Linked DNA regions of Homo sapiens: regions 2 and 3 are each linked to region 1. Evidence: promoter capture Hi-C in human tissues and cell types (Jung and others, 2019). All regions are on one chromosome and are shown on one strand. Each heading gives the region's core, a stretch centred on a gene start or on the middle of the fragment in contact. The rest is flanking DNA. Distances are from core to core; before and after follow the strand shown. Region 1 holds the start of POLE3 (DNA polymerase epsilon 3, accessory subunit). Region 2 overlaps FKBP15 (FKBP prolyl isomerase family member 15). Region 3 overlaps FKBP15 (FKBP prolyl isomerase family member 15).

Evidence for each region. The method cuts DNA at HindIII sites, captures the fragments that hold promoters and counts their contacts. A contact is called where the count stands out against the background at its distance.
Region 2: a contact is called between a fragment that was not itself captured here and the fragment with the promoter of POLE3 in region 1, in 1 of the 25 tissues and cell types used here (lymphoblastoid cells).
Region 3: a fragment that was not itself captured here is called in contact with the fragment with the promoter of POLE3 in region 1 in 1 of the 25 tissues and cell types used here (lymphoblastoid cells).

The regions. Positions count from the first base shown.
Region 1 is chr9:113,409,100-113,412,521 of GRCh38, forward strand. It overlaps POLE3 (DNA polymerase epsilon 3, accessory subunit), which reads right to left and starts at 1,576. Exons shown (of 5, transcript NM_017443.5): 1 at 1,518-1,576; 2 at 1,129-1,309; 3 at 956-1,041; 4 at 511-629. The coding sequence starts at 1,194. It overlaps C9orf43 (chromosome 9 open reading frame 43), which reads left to right and starts at 1,648. Exons shown (of 14, transcript NM_001278629.2): 1 at 1,648-1,902. RefSeq lists enhancers at 374-1,573, 476-1,375, 948-1,227, 1,468-1,657, 2,276-3,175. The HindIII fragment of the contact is 6,520 bases long and covers 1-3,422 here.
Region 2 is chr9:113,174,677-113,178,098 of GRCh38, forward strand. It overlaps FKBP15 (FKBP prolyl isomerase family member 15), which reads right to left. Exons shown (of 28, transcript NM_015258.2): 21 at 1,861-1,997. Among named protein-coding and RNA genes, the nearest start is that of SLC31A2, 25 kb to the left of the region's middle. The HindIII fragment of the contact is 4,829 bases long and covers 1-3,422 here.
Region 3 is chr9:113,201,700-113,205,121 of GRCh38, forward strand. FKBP15 (FKBP prolyl isomerase family member 15) reads right to left here. Exons shown (of 28, transcript NM_015258.2): 5 at 1,262-1,336; 6 at 832-930. Among named protein-coding and RNA genes, the nearest start is that of FKBP15, 18 kb to the right of the region's middle. The HindIII fragment of the contact is 9,656 bases long and covers 1-3,422 here.

The DNA of each region.
Region 1 (3,422 bases), core at 326-2,825:
GCCTGTAATCCCAGCACTTTGGGAGGCTGAGACGGGCGGATCACCTGAGGTCAGGAGTTCAAGACCAGCCTGGCCAATATGGTGAAACCCCGTCTCTACAAAAATAAAAAATGAGCCGCACGTGGTGGCGTGCGCCTGTAGTCCCAGCTACTCGGGAGGCTGAGGCAGGAGAATTGCTTGAACCCAGGAGGAGGAGACTGCGGTGAGCTGAGATCCCATCACTGCACTCCAGCTTGGGTGACAGAGCAAGACTCCGTCTCAAAAAAAAAAAAAAAAAAACAAAAACAAGAAAAGCAAGACAAAAACAAAAACGGAGGCAGAGAAGGAAAAATAACTTGCTCAGCATTACAAAACAGATCTGAGGTGGTGCCCACCGAACTGGGTCGAGTCACATCAAGTGCTGGCTTACTGGACTTAAAGGGACCCGCGCTGAGAAGGCTCAGGGCCTGGTGAACAGGTCACACAGGATGACCATCTTCTATGTGGTTTAGAAGACAAGAGGCTCGTTACCTTCCAGAGCTTCTTTCAATGGGGTAACGAACCGCTGGAACTCCATCTCTTCCATGGCTGAGAGCACATCACTGGCATTCAGCGTCTTCCGCTTTCCTTTCATTGCAAAGTTGTTAGCACTGAGAGAAGAGAAAGGCTGTCAGACTCCCTCTTGTTTGTAAGGCGTGAGTGGGAAAAGGAGCACCCAGAGGTGGAACGGGAAAGCCTGCCTCTTACATGTATGGATTTTGGTGTGACAGGGATAAGTCCTTCCCTTCTCTGCACAAAAAAGCTAAAGCAAAGTGATTTTGTTGTGTTATTTTGCTTCAGAACTTGTAAAAACTGGCAGAGGACTGTGAACATGTCCCCACCGAGGGAGAACACAATCGTTGGGGTTTGTAGGCTCCCAGCCAGCAACTCCCAGCCAGGTATCCCCGCGCCTCCCTTATGCCTCTGTCCCGCTCACCAGGATGTGGCGTACAGCACGAAGACGCTGGCGGCGCGGGAGATGGCGCTCCGGGCCTCCTTGGAGATGTTGACACCGTCCGGGAGCTGCGAGGAGACCGGGGGTGAGCAAAGCTGCCGTTCCAGCACCTGCTTCCCTCCTGCCCGTTCGTCCGCCCCCCCCGAGCTGCTCACCGCCTCCTTGATGATCCTGGTGATCACGGCATTGGGCAGGTTTAGGTCCTCGGGCCTCTCCGCCATTGCCGCCGCTGGGGCTTAAACTCCCCTTCGCCTCCGCTTCAGGGAGCTACTGCGTCCGGACTTCCCGCGTCGCTACGGTCTGACCCTGCGAGGTTTCCGTTCCGCCCCACGTGGCCTACAGTGTCCCACAGTGCTCTGAGCGCCATAGCCTCCCTCCTCCCCCCACAGCCCCGCCTCCGCCTCAAATACCGGCGCATCCGGATTTTGAAGCCGCAGTGGTTTTGGCCCGCCAAGGCTTCCATCCAACCCTACCGCACCCCGCACGCCCCTCCCCAGGTCCATTTCTCTGCTTCTCGCCATCGCCGCGTCGGGAACCTTCTCACCAACTTATTTGGCTCAATGGAGCTTCCGTCCGTTTCCCATGGTGCCCTGCGCCGCTGCTGGGTGACGGCGCGGCCGGGCGCAGCGCGTGGGAGACGAAGGCGTGGCTGACTCGGCGGGGCGGATCCCTTTAGGACCCGAGGCAGGCTCTGGGCCCGCCGGGTCCGTTAATCTCACCGCGCCGCAAGGGGCCACGTTTTACCACTTGATTTAGCAACCCTAAGCGGTTTGGAATCTGCTTTGCTCTCACAGGACCTCAGCCCGTCGTGATCAGATTCTCCCACTTTCTTTTTTCTTTCCTGGAATGGAGTGGGCAGTCTTTTTCCATCTCTACCGAAGTTGATGTTCATTTTTAATCTTTTCGCCCCTCACGCTTTTGTAATAATGGTACTAAGACTGAGTGTTATTTAGATTTTATTGTTGTTGTTTGTGTTTAACGCGAACTATTTAGGCAGCCCAGGGATAATGCTGGCCATATAGAGATGCGCCTGATTAGGTCTCAGGAGTCAATTCGGACTGGGCAGGTAACGAAAGGGCGAGAAGCAGCCTTTTCACTGTATGAAGAATGCAACGTCACATTCGCTTTCAAAAACAAACCGTGTTAAAATTGTATTTATTTTTCAGTTAAATTGTTCATCATACATTTTTTCCAGTTAAAACCATTCTCAAGGTTTTGCAATGGCGTTTCTTTTTTTTTTTTTTTGAGACAGTCTCACTCTGTCGCCCAGGTTGGAGTGCAGTGGCGCCGATTTCGGCTCACTGCAAGCTCCGCCTCCCGGGTTCACGCCATTCTCCTACCTCAGCCTCCTTAGTAGCTGGGACTACAGACGCCCGCCACCACGCCCGGCTAATTTTTTTGTATTTTTAGTAGAGACAGGGTTTCACCGTGTTAGCCAAGATGGTCTCGATCTCCTGACCTCGTGATCCGCCCGCCTCGGTCTCCCAAAGTGCAGGGATTACAGGCGCCAGTCACCGCGCCCGGCGCAATGGTGTTTTAAGTTGTTTTTAAGTTATTTTTATATTAAGTTCGTAGAAATTCTCACTCCCACTGATTTTATTTATTTTTTAATTTTTAAAATTTCTTGACAGGGTCTCACTCCGTCCCCCAGGCTGGAGTGCAGCGGCACGGTCTCGGCTCACTGTAGCCTCGACCTCCCTGGCTCAGGTGGTCCTCCCACCTCAGCCCCAAATAGCTGGGGCTACAGGTGCGTTCCATCACACCCAGCTAATTTTTTGTATTTTTCGTAGAGACAGGGTTTCACCATGTTGCCCAGGCTGGTCTCGAACTCCAGGGCTCAAGTGATTCTCCCTCGGCCTTGCAAAGTGCTGAGATTACAGGCATGAGCCACGGCGCCCAGCCTCCCACTGAGAATTAATGCTGCTTTTTTTTCCCGTCAAGCATGCAGTCCCAAGTCGCCCTGTAGTTTTCCTGCTTTCGATAGAAGCCTGATTATAGAGAAATATTTTAAAACAAAAGAGCAAATGCTATGATAAATGGCAACTGAAAGTGTTTCAATTAGAGACCATAAGGTCTGGTGGGGGAACTCCGCTTGGATAGAACAGACCTGGCTGAAACCATCAGGGCTGCTCAGCGCTAGTCAGTTGCTCTTCAACTGGAATTGGGCTCAGTGTTGTCAAGTATTTTGGTCCCTAAAAGGACATTGTGGGCTATTTCAATTTTAAAATTGATTCAAATTTAAAATTGATTCAAAGTGCTAGCCAAACAAAACAAGTAATAGGCCAGGTGCAATCCCAGGCTGATAGTTTATCTTTGATCTAAATTATGAAACTGTTTAGAACAGGGAGTTTGTTTATTACTGTTCATGTCCAAAGCAGGTCCCCTCACATATTTAGTAATCAATAAATGTGTTGAATAAAAGAAAGAAATGGACACTGTCCTTAAAAAG
Region 2 (3,422 bases), core at 601-3,100, 230 kb before region 1:
TACTCCATTTCTGAAAACTCCATTTTTTAGTTGAATTTTCCCCTAAATATTTAACATTCTTGGCTACTGGGTGAGGAAAATGGTGACAGGAGAAGGAAAACAAGAAGAGCTGTATCTACCCCTCTATTAAGAGCTAGGGAAATTGGGAGGCCGAGGCGGGCGGATCACGAGGTCAGGAGATCGAGACCATCCCGGCTAAAACGGTGAAACCCCGTCTCTACTAAAAAATACAAAAAATTAGCCGGGCGTAGTGGCGGGCGCCTGTAGTCCCAGCTACTTGGGAGGCTGAGGCAGGAGAATGGCATGAACCCGGGAGGCGGAGCTTGCAGTGAGCCGAGATCCCGCCACTGCACTCCATCCTGGGCGACAGAGCGAGACTCCGCCTCAGAAAAAAAAAAAAAAAAAAAAAAAAAAAAAAAAAAAAAGAGCTAGGGAACATCCTAACTTTAATAAAGGTACAGGAAATCAGACATTCTCATACCCTGATAGTAAGAAAACGAATGGATATACTCTCTTTGGATAGTAATCCTGTGAAAAGCCTTTAAAAACATACGTATCCAGAAATTCCACAAATTGTAATTAAGGATTCAATAAGTCATAGTCATAAAGAGTGTGTTACAAGGATGGTCACTGTAGTAGTATCTATAGTAATGACAAACTGAAAACAGCCAAGAGGTTAGAAGGAATTGGTTAAAAATAAATAAATAAAATGGAAAAAATCCTGGAAAAAAATGCAATTGCAGACCAAGATTTACCCTCTTAAAAGGCACTGGGCCAAAACAGCTTTACCTAATGAGATTTACTGAAGCCTCAGGAGCAGTTTATTATTTTCATATTTAAACGATTCCAGAACAGACAAAAAGATAGAAATGTTCTCACTTTGTTCACTTAGTATTTCCTGATATTAAAATTTTAACCAACAAAAGATACTATAAATAAAGTTAAAAGACAGCAAGCTAGAAAAATATTTACAACATCTATGACTGACAAAGGATTGATACCCTTAAAAGGGTTTACAAATCAAACTAATAATAGGAAAAAGGATAAAGGACACTAAAGAGAGAATGTACATAAGAAATACAAATAGGTATTAAATATATGAAAGCTTTACTACTAATAAAAATACACATTAAAACAAGATAACATATTTCACCTGTCAGACTAATGAAGATTAGAAAAAGTGATATATGTAGAGTGGGGAAGAATGTGACAAATGGGCTCACTCACATACTGCTGAAAGTGTAAGCACTATTCTTTGAGGATAACCTGGTAATATTTATAAAAATTCAAATATGTAGCCTTCCCTTTGATCCCATGATTCTTACTCATGCAATCCATCACGTAGGAATGCTCAAACAAATTTGCAAAAACAGTTATATAATATGAGAATGTCCATAGAAGCAGTGCTTAAAATAATGAAAAAATAAAAACATAAATATCCATCGATAGGCAAATCATTAAACAAATTATGGTACAGCCTCATAGTAGGCTACTATGCAGCAGTTAACTACGAGTGAGAAAGATCTCCTTCTTATGTAGTACAAGTCCATGACATTTTCCTAAAAAACATTAAACGTGATACCACTACTGTAAAAAAAGTTGTCAGTATACATACATGTATGTGTGTGAGAGTGTGAATGTATGTTTTCTACATACAGAAAACAATCTGGAAGGATCATACACTTTATAACTGTCACCTTCAATGTATGAGATTAGAGCGGGGAAAATTTTTTTTTAATTTTACACTTTTCTATATTATTTGTATTTGTTACAATAAGCACATACTATTGTAATTTGTAAAAGGAAAATAAAAATGTTTATTAAACAGCTAATTCTGGCCAACTGGGTTGTAGAGCTTACCTTTTCCAAGGACTCCTTCTCAACTCGAAGGTCAGTCAGTTCCTCCTCCAGGGATGTCACCTTGAGTTCCAGTTGTTTCCGGTTCTGCTTTTCACTTTTGAATTTGGACTGTGCTTGCTCAGAGGTTTCTTGGAGCTCTGGGATACAGGAGCAGAGAGACTTCGCTACAGAACCAAAGCTGTAATGGGCTATGTGTTATCCCAGCAGCTCTTTTTTTAAATTATTTTTTGGAGACAAAGCCTTGCTCCATCACTCAGGCTGGAGTGCAGTGGTGTGATCATAGCTCACTATAGCCTCCATCTCCTGGGCTCAAGCAGTCCTCCTGCCTCAGCCTCCCAGAGTGCTAGGATTACAGGCGTGAGCCCCTGCGCCTGGCCCCAGTGGCTCTTTCAAAGCCGCGTGCTTTGATTTCCCAATCCTACCACACAAGCAGCCTCTGCTCACTTCTTTCAACATCACCTCACTGACCAGCAATAAGATTTGTCAAGCCGTCAGCTGACTCCCTCATCAACCCATATTTATCCCATAGAAAGTCATCTCTGTGTATACATGTCACCTTCTCCACATACGAAATGGAAAGGACATGTTCCCAGCAGTCAGAAATGACCTTTGAAACAGATAACTCTCATAAGTCCATTTTGGCCACCATCTTAACACACTGGACCAATCATTGTTTAGTATTAGTCCAGGTTCTTTCTCACTGCTTGAGTAAGATAGTCTCAACTTTCTTGGTAGCTGGGACATTCTACCAAGAATTTGCTTTCAAAGCATCCCTTCTCAAATAAAGCTCTTTGAAATAAATAAAATTTGTTTGGGAAACTTTTGAGACTCTTATGACTCTTGAGGTAATTGTCATAAGGCACCACAAAAGCAGAAATGAGACATTTGAACAACATTCAAATCTAAGACTGTCTAACACATTTGCCTCATGTGGGCCCAGTCATGCTCTAAAAGGGAAGAGATGGGCTGGGAGCAATGGCCAATGCCTGTTAATCCCAACGCTTTGGGAGAACAGGGCGGAAGGATGGCTTGAGGTCAAGAGTTCACAACCAGCCTGGTCAACATAGTAAGACTCCTGTCTCTACAAAATATAAAAAATTTTTAAAAAAATAAAAGGGAAGGGATGTATCTTCAAGGTAGCACCTTACCAATTGACATCATTGTTTTTTAGTTCTCTATTAGGCAAATGAACTTTGCTTCCACCCAACTCTGCTGCTGCTCCAGCTACCCCCTGCCCACTAGTCCCATGTCTGCCTTCCATATTTGTTTCCATAAACCAAGGTAGATTAATCAACCTGCTGGTCTTCACAAATCTTCTATCCAATCACCATGTCTTGCCAGGCACTGAACTAACACTAATATGGAGGAGAGGACTTTACAAAGATGAGCAAAACACCATGCTTATCAAACTGTGATAAGGGTTATAATAATGCACTATGAGATAAAGGATTTTTTTTTAAAGAGATCAAATGTTCTAGAGAAAACTAGGAAAGCTTCTGAAAGAGGCAGATTTTGAAGAGGACTAAAAGCGAATATTGGTAATGGTGGGCATGTCAAGTCCA
Region 3 (3,422 bases), core at 486-2,985, 210 kb before region 1:
CAGCCTCGAGAACCGTGAGAAATAAATTTCTGTTGCTTAACCAGACTATGGTAATTTGTTACGGTAGCTTGAACTGACAACATGCATATTATGCAGCCTTCAAAAATGTTTCCAAATAGTTTTTCATGAGGTAGGAAAAGATGAATTATACATTTTTAAATAAAATAAGCATGATAAAGAACTATTAAAGGACTGTATCTACTTATGTATATTATGCATAGAAAAAAGGAAATATGTTAATAGTGGTTACTTTGAGTAGTAAGACTATGAGTGATTTTTTTTAATGCTTTTCTAAATTTTCTACAATGAGTATGTAGTAACTTAACTCTCTTTCTTGCTCTCTCTATCTCTTTCTCTCTCTTTCTTTCTTTTCTTGTACAGATGGGGTTTCACTATGTTGCCCAGGCTGATCTTGAACTCCTAGGCTCAAGTGATCCACCTGCCTCGGCCTCCCAAAATGCTGGGATTACAAGCGTGGCATGAACCACCACACCCAGCCTAAAACATTCTTTGAAAACACTATTTTTTAAAGATAGTTTTATTTATTCCTTAAGATAATTTATGTAGTAGAAAATTTTTTAATATAATAAGATTACATTTAGTCTTTCTCTGTTAAAAAAGAAAAAGGCTAAATTGTCAAGCAGTTTCAGTAAGTATTCCTATTATTTTCCTGAAATCATACAATAGGCCGAAGTGGCAAATTTAGTGGGTTTTTTATGCTAGTCACTAACAAAACACAGCAGATTATGGGTTTTCTATATGTTTCCCTAAAATTAAGGGAAATCCAAACAAGTATTTTGGCTTTTCACAGGGAGAGTAAGATGTTATCACCTGCTTATTGAACTCCACAGCAGCCTTTTCCGACTCAAACATGATGGACCAGTTCTGTCTCTGGTCATCATAAAAGGTGCTATAGTTATTGGGCCGAACCTGGAGAAAGGAGAAATGTTAAATTCATCCACAAGCAGTATTATACCAGATAAACATGACGGCCTAAGCTCATAGAGTAGGGTCTTGACTCAGGTGGACCCAAAGGGAACTATCAGAGATCTTTCTTCTTCCCTCTCACCCTCTACGATTCACCCTTCAGTCCACATTCCTAGAAGGAGCCAAGAGACCTTTCTGAAAGGTTCTGTTAGATACTCACAAGGACACCCAGGGCTGAACCAGTGGATCTAATTTCTATTAGGTACAATCAGACCAGTCTCTCCTGTAAACCTATCCCGAAGGAGCTAATGATTCCAATATGATGAAGTCTTACCATTAGCTCAAAGTTCACATGAATCCTAGCAACCGTAACTGGCTGTTGTTGACTGATATAAAGAAGAATCCTATACTGTAGACAAGCAACGACAGATAGAAAAAAAAAAAGAGAGACAGCAGAAGTTAAAAGGCAATATAAAATCAGCAATATAAAATCAGCAATAAGTATCAAAGGTTGTGCTTCATACTAAACTCAAAATCTATTCATCCTTTAAGGCTTCAACTTTAAATTTTATCTTCTCACTATCCACATTAATCTCTTCTCATTTTGGTCTTACTGTTTAACTGTAATTGGCAATGTCTTCATTTTGTTGGTGTTTTCATTTATACAAGGGGTGACTAAGAGTGGCTGGTTGTGTAAAAGAAAATACAAATTGTTTTTAAATTGATGAAAAACATAAAATACATGTTCATTATACATATATGTGCCCACGTGACCATCAACCAGATTTAAAAAATAGCAGAGCATTTCCCACACCACAGGAAGCTCCCTCATGCCCTTCCTAGTCAATAATCCCCACCCTGAGATAACCAATATTCTGACTTCTGTCGCTGATTAATTTTGCTTTTTTTTTTTTTCTTTTTGAGACAGAGTCTCTCTGTCGCCCAGGCTGGAGTGCAGTGGCGCAATCTCGGCTCACTGCAACCACTGCCTCCCGGGTTCAAGCAATTCTCCTGCCTCAGGCTCCCGAGCAGCTGAGACTACAGGTGCACGCCACCACACCCTACTAATTTTGTATTTTTAGTAGAGACCAGGTTTCACCATGTTGGCCAGGCTGGTCTTGAACTCCTGACCTCAGGTGATCCGCCCACCTTGGCCTCCCAAAGTGCTGAGATTACAGGTGTGAGCCACCGCACCCAGACAATTTTGCTATTCTTAAATTTGTATAAATAGGATTATACAGAGTATACTCTTTTGTCTTGCTTCTTTCACTCACCGTATCTATAAGAGTAAGCCTTGATACTTCATGTTCCAGGACTTTATTCTCTTTTATTGTCATGTAGTATTCTATTATGTGAATATACCATAAACTCTTCATTCATTCTCCTGTTTATGAACATTTGAGTTGTTTCCAGCTAGAGGCTATTATGAATGATACTTCTATGAACATTCTCCACGTCATTTTTTTTTGAGATGACGTTTCACTCTTGTTGCCCAGGCTGGAGTGCAATGGCATGATCTCAGCTTACCGCAACCTCCACCTCCCAGGTTCAAGCAATTCTCCTGCCCCAGCCTCCCAAGTAGCTGGGATTACAGGCATGTGCCATCACACCTGGCTAATTTTTTTGTATTTTTAGTAGACACGGGGTTTCTCCATGTTGGTCAGGCTGGCCTTGAACTCCCGACCTCAGCCTTGGCTTTCCAAAGTGCTGGGATTGCAGGCGTAAGCCACCGCGCCCAGCCTCTCCATGTCTTTTGAAAGACACAGACATTCGTTTCCCTCAACTTAAAGAATGTCCTTTAATGTTCCTTGTAGTGCAAATCTACTACAATGAATTCTCTCACTTTTGTTTGGCTGAAAATTTATTTTGCCTTCATTTTTGAAGGATATTTTTGTTGCTATAGAATTCTGTAATAGGCAGGGTTTTGTTTTCCTTTCAGTACTTTAAAGATATAATTCTACTGTCTTTGGATTCCAATTACATGGACGTTAGACCATGTCCCACATCAATCTTTGCCCTGGTCTCTTTCTATTATTTCTTCTCTCTGTGCTTCAGTCTGAATATTTTCTATGTTACTGCCTTCGAAGTCACTAATTCTGTCTCCTGCTGTATTCTGACTCTGTTAAACCCATCCAATATGTTCTTAGTTTCAGAAATTGTATTTTTCAAATCTAGACTGCCATGTGATTATTCTTATAGATTCTAACTTTTTAAATTCTCCATCTTTTCATCCCTTTTGTACTTTTCCTCTATTTTCTTTAAGATATTATTCCTAGTTGTTTTAAGTGCCTTGTATGTTAACTGCAATATCTAGGTTATTTGTGAGTCTGCTCCTAGTTTATTTGTTCCCTTGATTATTAGTTACATTTTCCCACCTCTTCACATGTCAAGTAATTTTTTACCGTAGGCCCAACTTGTATATAAAACAACATGAGGGATAAAATCATAAAACTCTTAGAAGAAAACGTAGAGGTGAATCGTCATGACCTTGGTTT